Linked DNA regions of Homo sapiens: region 1 is linked to region 2. Evidence: promoter capture Hi-C in 16 types of primary human blood cells and fetal thymus (Javierre and others, 2016). All regions are on one chromosome and are shown on one strand. Each heading gives the region's core, a stretch centred on a gene start or on the middle of the fragment in contact. The rest is flanking DNA. Distances are from core to core; before and after follow the strand shown. Region 1 holds the start of CHTF8 (chromosome transmission fidelity factor 8). Region 2 holds the start of DYNC1LI2 (dynein cytoplasmic 1 light intermediate chain 2).

Evidence for each region. Contacts are between HindIII fragments. The CHiCAGO score rates a contact against its expected background, and 5 or more counts as called.
Region 1: a contact is called between the fragment with the promoter of CHTF8 here and the fragment with the promoter of DYNC1LI2 in region 2, in 1 of 17 cell types (total B cells). The highest score is 5.1, in total B cells.

What each region holds. Positions count from the first base shown.
Region 1 is chr16:69,130,305-69,134,526 of GRCh38, forward strand. CHTF8 (chromosome transmission fidelity factor 8) reads right to left here and starts at 2,284. Exons shown (of 4, transcript NM_001039690.5): 1 at 2,180-2,284. It overlaps DERPC (DERPC proline and glycine rich nuclear protein), which reads right to left and starts at 2,284. Exons shown (of 3, transcript NM_001002847.4): 1 at 2,180-2,284. UTP4 (UTP4 small subunit processome component) reads left to right here and starts at 2,345. Exons shown (of 17, transcript NM_032830.3): 1 at 2,345-2,385; 2 at 3,154-3,314. The coding sequence starts at 3,156. RefSeq lists silencers at 1,864-2,013, 2,034-2,393. The HindIII fragment of the contact is 3,017 bases long and covers 357-3,373 here.
Region 2 is chr16:66,749,117-66,752,992 of GRCh38, forward strand. It overlaps DYNC1LI2 (dynein cytoplasmic 1 light intermediate chain 2), which reads right to left and starts at 2,493. Exons shown (of 13, transcript NM_006141.3): 1 at 2,369-2,493; 2 at 2,157-2,230; 3 at 81-197. The coding sequence starts at 2,475. DYNC1LI2-DT (DYNC1LI2 divergent transcript) reads left to right here and starts at 2,636. Exons shown (of 2, transcript NR_133569.1): 1 at 2,636-3,784. RefSeq lists a silencer at 2,121-2,920 and an enhancer at 2,134-2,849. The HindIII fragment of the contact is 3,643 bases long and covers 1-3,422 here.

The DNA of each region.
Region 1 (4,222 bases), core at 1,034-3,533, 2.4 Mb after region 2:
GAAATTTTGTTTTTTTTTCAAACAGGAAACCAAGCCTTTAAATTCTCAACCCTTAAACATTCTTTTCTAAACTGGGGTGAAATCAATTATTTCAGAGTGTAAATATTCACAATTTTCTATTTTTTGCTAGGCCAACAGTTGGCATTTATTGAGCTTTTGTTTTTTGATCCCAGGGTGGATACTTTGTTTACGAATATAGTGAAGCACTCACTTGTCATACAGACCTGGATTCTGTGATTTTGCCACCTATCCCATATGTGACAGTGGGTAGTTTAACCTCACGTGTTTTCCTAACAATACACTGGGCATAAACACCTATTTTGAAAGGCTGTTGCAAGAACGAGTAATGAATGTAAAGCTTTTAGCACATTGTCTGACACATGGTAAGCCTTCAGGGTCAAGCTATCGATTTCCCAGAGAAAGGTGGCATTTTCTTAGTATTCATCAAATAGAATGTCTTAATACTACACTGTGTTAGCATATTAATGTTTATAACGGACTAAAGCATTCTACGAAAGCAGCAGGTCATCAGAATAAAATCAAGTTTTCATAACAGTAGAATTCAAACATGGCAGTTGTGGTTCACCAAACTGCTTCAGGGATTAAGTTCTGGAAGGTAATTTCTCTAAATATGATGACTATGTCTCTATGTGCCTTTCTACCAAGTGAACAACTCAGAACGTTTTACATACAACCGAATACAGATTATTTTTATTTGTAGTGTTATCGTGGTTTTGTAACTGAAGGGGACAGGTCTATACTTTTGAAGGGGATCTTGTCTCTTGAAAGGCTTATGTTACTAAGTCTAAAATCCTGTTTCCAAATGAGAATCTTGCTCCCCTCCAAAAAGGGGCTTATGGAGGGTTGGTGGAATTGAATGCTTCCAAACTTTACATTAGTGAAGTGTGTTCAAAAACGTGTGTGGATGCTATGCATACACGTGATACTTCCCATCACATTTTAGGATTCCCACGTTGGAGGGAATCAATTACTGGTATTTGTAGCAATGGGTGGAAAAGATGGCTTCAGTCGATCTGAGTTACTGCAGTTTTCTCCATCTTCTGCTACTCTGCAGCCCCATCTTAGCCTGTCCTCCTCTTAATGGTACGGCCCCCTGTACTCCCCCAAACCCTTTCCTTTCTAGCCCGGCGTAGAGTCTCCCTCTGTGCTCTTCCTCCCACCCACCCCCATCTTCTCCACCCACTCCCTCTCGGCCCCCTCCCACCCTTTCTGCTAGAGCTACAAACACTTCCTATTTCTAGTCCCACCCACTTTCTGGGACTTCTCAATCCGCTTCCCCCCTCTTCTCCACCCCCCTCCAAATTACAAGCTGTTTTAACCCCTTTTCCTGCCTCCCAGGGAAACTATTCTTTAAACCGCCTTCCTCCACACCACCCACTGGAGTGGTCTTCCAAACCGTTCACCCTCTTCCCAAAGATTACTCTTTAAACGTCCTTTCTCTACCACCCTCGTTCTCCAAATTGTTCCCGGTTCTCAAGTACTCCACTCCTCCAGGACCCCACCCCACTCGTCTCTCGGCTTCCCTCCCACAAAAGAACCTGGAATGACTCTCCAACCACCCTTCCAATTACCTCTCCCAGAAGCCTCCCCCCTCCACGATTACAAATGTTACCTGGAACAAAACCTCACGGTCCTAACCCCCACCCCGAACTCCCCTTTCTGCTCTTCCCGCTACTTCCTAGGTTCCAGTTCTACTCCGCTCCCGCAAGCATAGCGGGCTGGGCTCCCTCCCAACCCCGGGAAGAGCCCCTTCCCGCACGTACCTCGAGATTCCGGCCCTCGCCGCCCCCTTCTCCGTCCTCCGCCCGCGCTCGGCCACCCTTTCCGCCCTTCTCCCGCTCCGCCCCGCTCGCTCCCTTCCTTCCCTCCGCCTTCCGTCTCCACACCGCTCCCTTCCCCCACACTCCTGGCCCTCCCACCCCGGAGGCCCCTCCGGGCTTGCCCCCACCTCCGCGCCGCCCTCCCGCCGCCCTCCCCCTTCCCGGCCACCCCTCCCCCGCCCGCGCTCCCCGCCCCTCGGCTCGCCATTCTTCTCTCCGAGCCGCGCGCCCCGCCCGGCCCCGGCTCCCTAGCTTCCCGCTCCCTCGCGCCCTCGCCCCCAATCCCGGCTCGGCCCTCGCTCCCCGCAGCCTCCCGTGCCCCCCGCCCGCGGCCTGACCTGCAATGGCGGCCGCCGAGCGCGGCGCCGCGCGGCCAACGGGCGACAACCGAACCTCCCGCCGCCGTCGCCGCCGCCGCGAGCACTGCCTGCGCACTTCCGACTATGCGCCAGGAGCACTTCCGGGGCAGAGCCTGAGAGCGCGCGCGCACGTGGGGCCGGGGCGGAGAGAGGCGAGCACCGGGAAGGGGAGCGTGGGGCCGCTGGTGAGTTGGGGAAGGGGCGTGGGAAGCGGCTGCGAGAGCTGGGGGGGTCTTACAAGGTGGCCGGCCCAGGGTCGGCGTCCGGCTGAGCTCCTTGTCCCGAGGGTCTCCTTGTCCCGAGGCGGGGTGGGGGCTACTCTGTAGACTCGGGGAGAGGGAAGGGGAGGCGAAGACCGCGCGCGCCTCAGACGCCCCGGCCCGACCGAACGCGCTTGCTCTGTCTGCGGGTTCCTAACCTTGAAGCTAGGCCAGTGAGGGGCGAACAAGACCTGGTCTCTACTCTCGGCCAGTATATATGTTGGCGGGCGTCGGGGGGACGGGGTAGGGTAAGTGACAGACGTCAGACCAGGCAGCCAGATTAAGTCAAACCCTGTCGTTTCTTCCTCAAGAGGAGCTCGGTTCTGCCTGCCCCATCAGCCTCACTGTCACTACCTCAGTTTAGGTCTGTTGTTTGCAAACTTAGCAATAGAGTTGAGGAGAGATGCTTGCTAAAATGCGGATTCCTAGGCGCCCCGAGATAGGAACTCTGGAGCTATGGAGTAGGACCCTTTTTGATTTTTTGCTGAAGCCTCCTTATTATTCAAGCCATTCTGAGCTTTTGAAGATTGAGTAATTCTTGTGGGGGGCATTGTTAGCAGCCATTTGGAAATGAACTTCAGGGAGATGTTGTTGGAGCCTTCCAGCCAGAACAGTGATATTAAGGAACTGAATACTATATGTGACATACTGCAGTTAACATATAGCAATAATGACTCTCTTTTCGCCCCCTAGGAATGGGTGAATTTAAGGTCCATCGAGTACGTTTCTTTAATTATGTTCCATCAGGAATCCGCTGTGTGGCTTACAATAACCAGTCAAACAGATTGGCTGTTTCACGAACAGATGGCACTGTGGAAATTTATAACTTGTCAGCAAACTACTTTCAGGAGAAAGTAAGTCATTTGGGAGTCTGATATGGTGTTTTGATGTTAATTTCTTCTGAAGTTCAAGAAGCTTGTATGTCTTTTATAATCAAACTGATTGAGTGACTTCCTAGCCCCTCTGAAGTTGCTTAGAACTACCAAACTTCTGAGATCTCCTAACTGATAAGAGAAGCTCAGTTTCAATCTGTGTAATGTTGATTAGAAGGGTCCTACCTAGAAATGTGACATCTCACTGCCTGTCATTGGAAACTGAGGTTTGCTGGATCTTTTGGACACAGGAAGGGAAATTGTTGGTATATCAGTCTCAACACCATTGCAGCTTTGGTAAGCAAAATTTCCTGCAGGGAGTATCAGTACTGTTTCATTGTCAATTCAGAAAAAATGATAACACGTTTTAATATCAGAAACTTTTTGGTGATGTGGGAAGATGGATTCCAAAGTTCATCTGTCTGAGAGAATGTAGACCTACATGTCTACATTTGGGAGTAAAGGAGATTTAAAATTAGGTAAAATGTCCTTTGGGTGTATGCAGAGGTCTATTAGTCCTTTTTCTTCTCCCCTCCAAGGGCACTGACTAGTGATTTTCTTCGGGTGCAACATCTTAGTTCATGTTGAATGACTGTTATGTACTGGGTGCTGTGATATAAATGAGTAGATGGGCAAATGAGTGAATTCAGTGCCCAGCAGCCTGGTACCTGGAATTTAGGCATTCTGTAAATGTTTCTCGGTGAATGAGTGGCAAATACTGGGCACTAAGACAAATGTCAGAGGCCCTAACTTTACGGAGCTCAAAGACCAGTGGGAGAAAGATAAGTGTACAGTTTCCAACCTGTAAAATAAATATGATAAACCGAAACACAGGCATAGAACCTTCATTGAATTGCCTTCAGGGAAGGCAATTCAGAGAATTGCCTTCC
Region 2 (3,876 bases), core at 1,243-3,742:
CATGCTGCAGGAACTGCACCCAAGGAAGCAGTCAGAGTCCTGCATACACCCCCTTACCATGGGACCAATGCTTCACTCACCATCTCGGTCCTCATCATGGACACTGAGGTAGAGATATTCTAGGCCTCTTCCTTTTTTGCCATGCTCAGCTCCTTGTAGTTTAGTCATGAGGGTTGTTTTACCAGAACCATCTTCACCTACAAAGGATGTTTGCAAGACAAAGGTGTACTGTTTATTCCGGGCAAGGATGGGGAGGCATGACACTCACATGACACGGAGAAACTAAGAATTTCATGCAAAGTCTGCTGTTGAAGTCTCACCTGCTTTCATAAACAAAGGACTTTGCTGGAAGAGTGGTTGGGAGGGTGGGGAGGAGAGGGTGGTAAAGGCAGCAAATTCCAAGATCTAAAATGACATTCTACTGCAGTTATCCTTACTTCAAAAGGGAAATAATGAGGCAGGTCCACAGGCCCTATCTATAATTTATAAGACATGCATTCGGAGAAGTGAAAGTAAAAGGTAGGGTTAGTTTCTCACAAGAAAAAGTTTCACCACAAGAAAAACAAGAAATCTTCAAAATATGATACAATTAACCTAAAAGTCCAGGTACTGTGAACTAAAAAAAGTCTGATCCTGCTTCACAATGGTGAAGAATGGAAGTTATTCACTTTTGATTTTAGTACATCTCCTTCACAAACATTCTGAAGGCTAAGAAACTGACGAAAATAATTATAGACCTAGCAAAACTCTTCAGTACAATCTCAGTTAATTATTAAGCACTTCTTCATCTCCCTCCACCCAAACAACACCCCCCTTCCCCGGATCCTTAAACATCAAGGAGAACCATCGCCAAACATTACTAGGCACTTCTGCCATTTAATAATATGGAATTACAGAACATGAGAATTGAAAGGCAGTCAGTCCACAGATCAAAGACCTCCTCTCCATCTCCAATGCCTCTACCTTATTCAGGCCCTCTGCATCCAGACCAAGGTGAGGACCTGTCAGCCTGACTTCAGTACCTGCTCATTTTGAGCTACTGTCCCTCTGCAGGCAGCGTTCTTTCTAAAACTCAGATCTGGTGATCTTGATCCCCCACTTCTTGAAGATCTCTAAGGGTCCGGTATTACCTACCACAGTCAATTCCTGAGAAAGGTCACACATTCTAACAGTAGGAAAACTACCAAGGCAGTGATTCCCATGGGAATTGGGGGATGGAGGTGAGATAAAAGCCATTTGAAAAATCAGAGAACTTCAGGAAACAGCACTAACTCTTCAGCCTTCCCACAATCTGCCCCCAACTTACCTTAGCAGCCACCAACCACAAGGCGCTTCTAGCAGTTTCCAAACCCCACACCCTCTTGTCATCTGTGTCCCTGCATACTGACACTTTTCTGCAAAATACTCAACCCCCGAATCATCCTCCTTCACCAGCTCTAAGCAGTGTAATGCTTCCACAATAATCGGCATGGTGCAATGCAATCACCAATACATCTGTCTTCCACCAGACTGAGATTCTTCTATAGTGTTTAAGAGTCGCCTATGCTGAGCCTGTGCCCAGCCCACAGGTCCCAAGCAACAAATGGACTTGCTGTGTGAATGTACCCAAACTCCCTCACTTGAGGAGAGTGAGGCCAGAGGGAGTAAGGGACCTGACTCAGGTAACCTAGCAGTGAGGGCTAGCATAATGGAGGAAACGTCCCCAGTGCTGACTCTCTGTCCTCTGCAAAGTCCCTAAAACCTCGGACTATGCACTACTGATGAGGCTCAAAGAAGGCTCCCGTGGTCATTTCCCCACAGCTCCGAGCCCAGGTCACCTCGTTCTCCCACCTTCTCCACCTAATCTCATCTACTAGCTTCCCCTCTCCACGACCTCAATTTGGTAACCGTCGAGGCAATGAAGGCATAGAGGGCCAAGTGACTGAAACAATATGCCGACAACCCCAAAGCACCACTACGCTCTCCAAAGAGGGCAGCATCCCACCCTCAGGCGCTGGAGGCTTGACCACTCTCCAGCTGACCGGCCAGGGCCGACGGTCCCTTTCCCGCCAGGCTGCGGGCAGGCGGCTGGAACGGGGAAGGCGGGGACCTGAGGGAGGGGCGCCCGCCTCGCCCACCCCAGCGACCTGGGGCAACGCCCCGCCGCCGGCGCTCACCGAAGACCAGGATGTTCTTGCCGGACGGCAGCTTGGACCTGGCGCGGGTGGACACTTCGCTCAGAATGGAGGACCTGTGGCGACAATGGCAAGAGTGGTCAGCCCCGGGCCGGGCTGGGATGGCCCGGCTCGCGTCGGCCCCTCAGTGTGTCCGACGGTCCGGCCCAGAGGCCGCGCCCCCCACGGCCCGGCCCGACCGCCCGCGGCCTCACCATAGGCTCTGGCCTTCCTCCTCCTCACTGGTCAGGTCGCCGGCGGCCGCCACCGCGGGCCCGTTGGGACCTAGCAGCAGCTTCTTCTCCACCCCCACCGGCGCCATCTTGCCAACTGCAGCCACAAAGAGGGCCCTCCCCCGGGCCCGCCGAGGACCCGCGAGGACCCGGGCCGGGCCGCCCCCCGCTCGCCGTCCCTCGCGCCGCGCCGCCCGCCGACCTTGCCGCGGCGACTGCGCCGCCCAACGTGTCCTCTAGGTCTGCGATGGCCACGGGCTCCCACGGGTTGCGAGGCCGCCGAGGTGGCGGGCGGCGGTCAGGCAGCCGCCGGGGCAGCCATGCGCGGGGAGGCGGTGGCAGGGGCGGGCACCGTCCGGACCGAGGGCGCGCTGGCGGCCTCTGCCGGCTGAGGGGCGCAGCGCAGCACCCCGCCACGCTCGCCGATTCCCCTGCGCCGTCGCGGGTCGGGCAGCCGGATGACCGACCCGAAAGCCTAGGCTTTGGGAATGAGACTGATGGACACAAAAGCGCCATTTATCTAGAGCTCACCATGTGCCAGAGTCACACATTATCTCACTGAATCTTATCTAACCCTTTCACAGATGAGGAACCTGAAGCTCAAAAAATTTAAGAAACCCACCCAAGGACCCAAGGCTAGAAGATAACATTCGGTACTTCTAATTTATTCCCCAACCTTGGACCATTATATCATGAACTTGGCCTAACCCTACTCAAGCCCTGCATTGAAAGACTAGCCTTAAGGAAGACCCCAGAATCCTCATAAATATCCTGCATTTCCCCCTCCTCCTCCGAAGACTAAAGACTGTGAAGTAGTGCTCTTGACCGCAGTGCATAATACACTTGGCTTTGCTTTATTAACATGCTTTTTAAAATGATGTTTTCAGGGAGCCAGCATTTCACACCAGAAGAGGAGCCCTTAATTTCCTTGGGGGCCAGCTGGCAGGTGCAGAGCGGGGAGAAAAATAAAAGGAAAGGGGATGGAAAAGGGAAAGAGCGGAGAGTAACCGAAGGAAAAACATACATTCCATTATCAAGCTTAATTTTAGGTGTGGCCTCTACTTGAGGGCTCTTGCCATTCTCTATGGAAACAGGCTAACAAGACATTTCTAAATATCACAAGGAAGTGGAATGTGGCAGAAAAGCACCACCTAAGTAGGTTTCAGATGAGTAGGATTGTGATCCTGATGCCAAAAAATCTGGCGGCATGAATTACGGGATAAAACAAATGGGCATATCATCTGCCAAACTGGATGTAAGGTTTAAACAAGACGAGAGTGAAAACCCACTGAGTTCCTCCCTTGGAAATCTGGGAAAATCAGGCAAAGTGCCAGAAGTCCTAAAAGGGCAAGCAGTGCTGAATTTTCACAGGACAGAAGATGGAGATGAAAATTACAGGCCAGTGAGCTTAATCAGCACTAAGTGAAATTTTGTGATTAAACACTAAAGGAAAAGAGAATACCAGATTTACACAGTATCTTTCTTTTTTG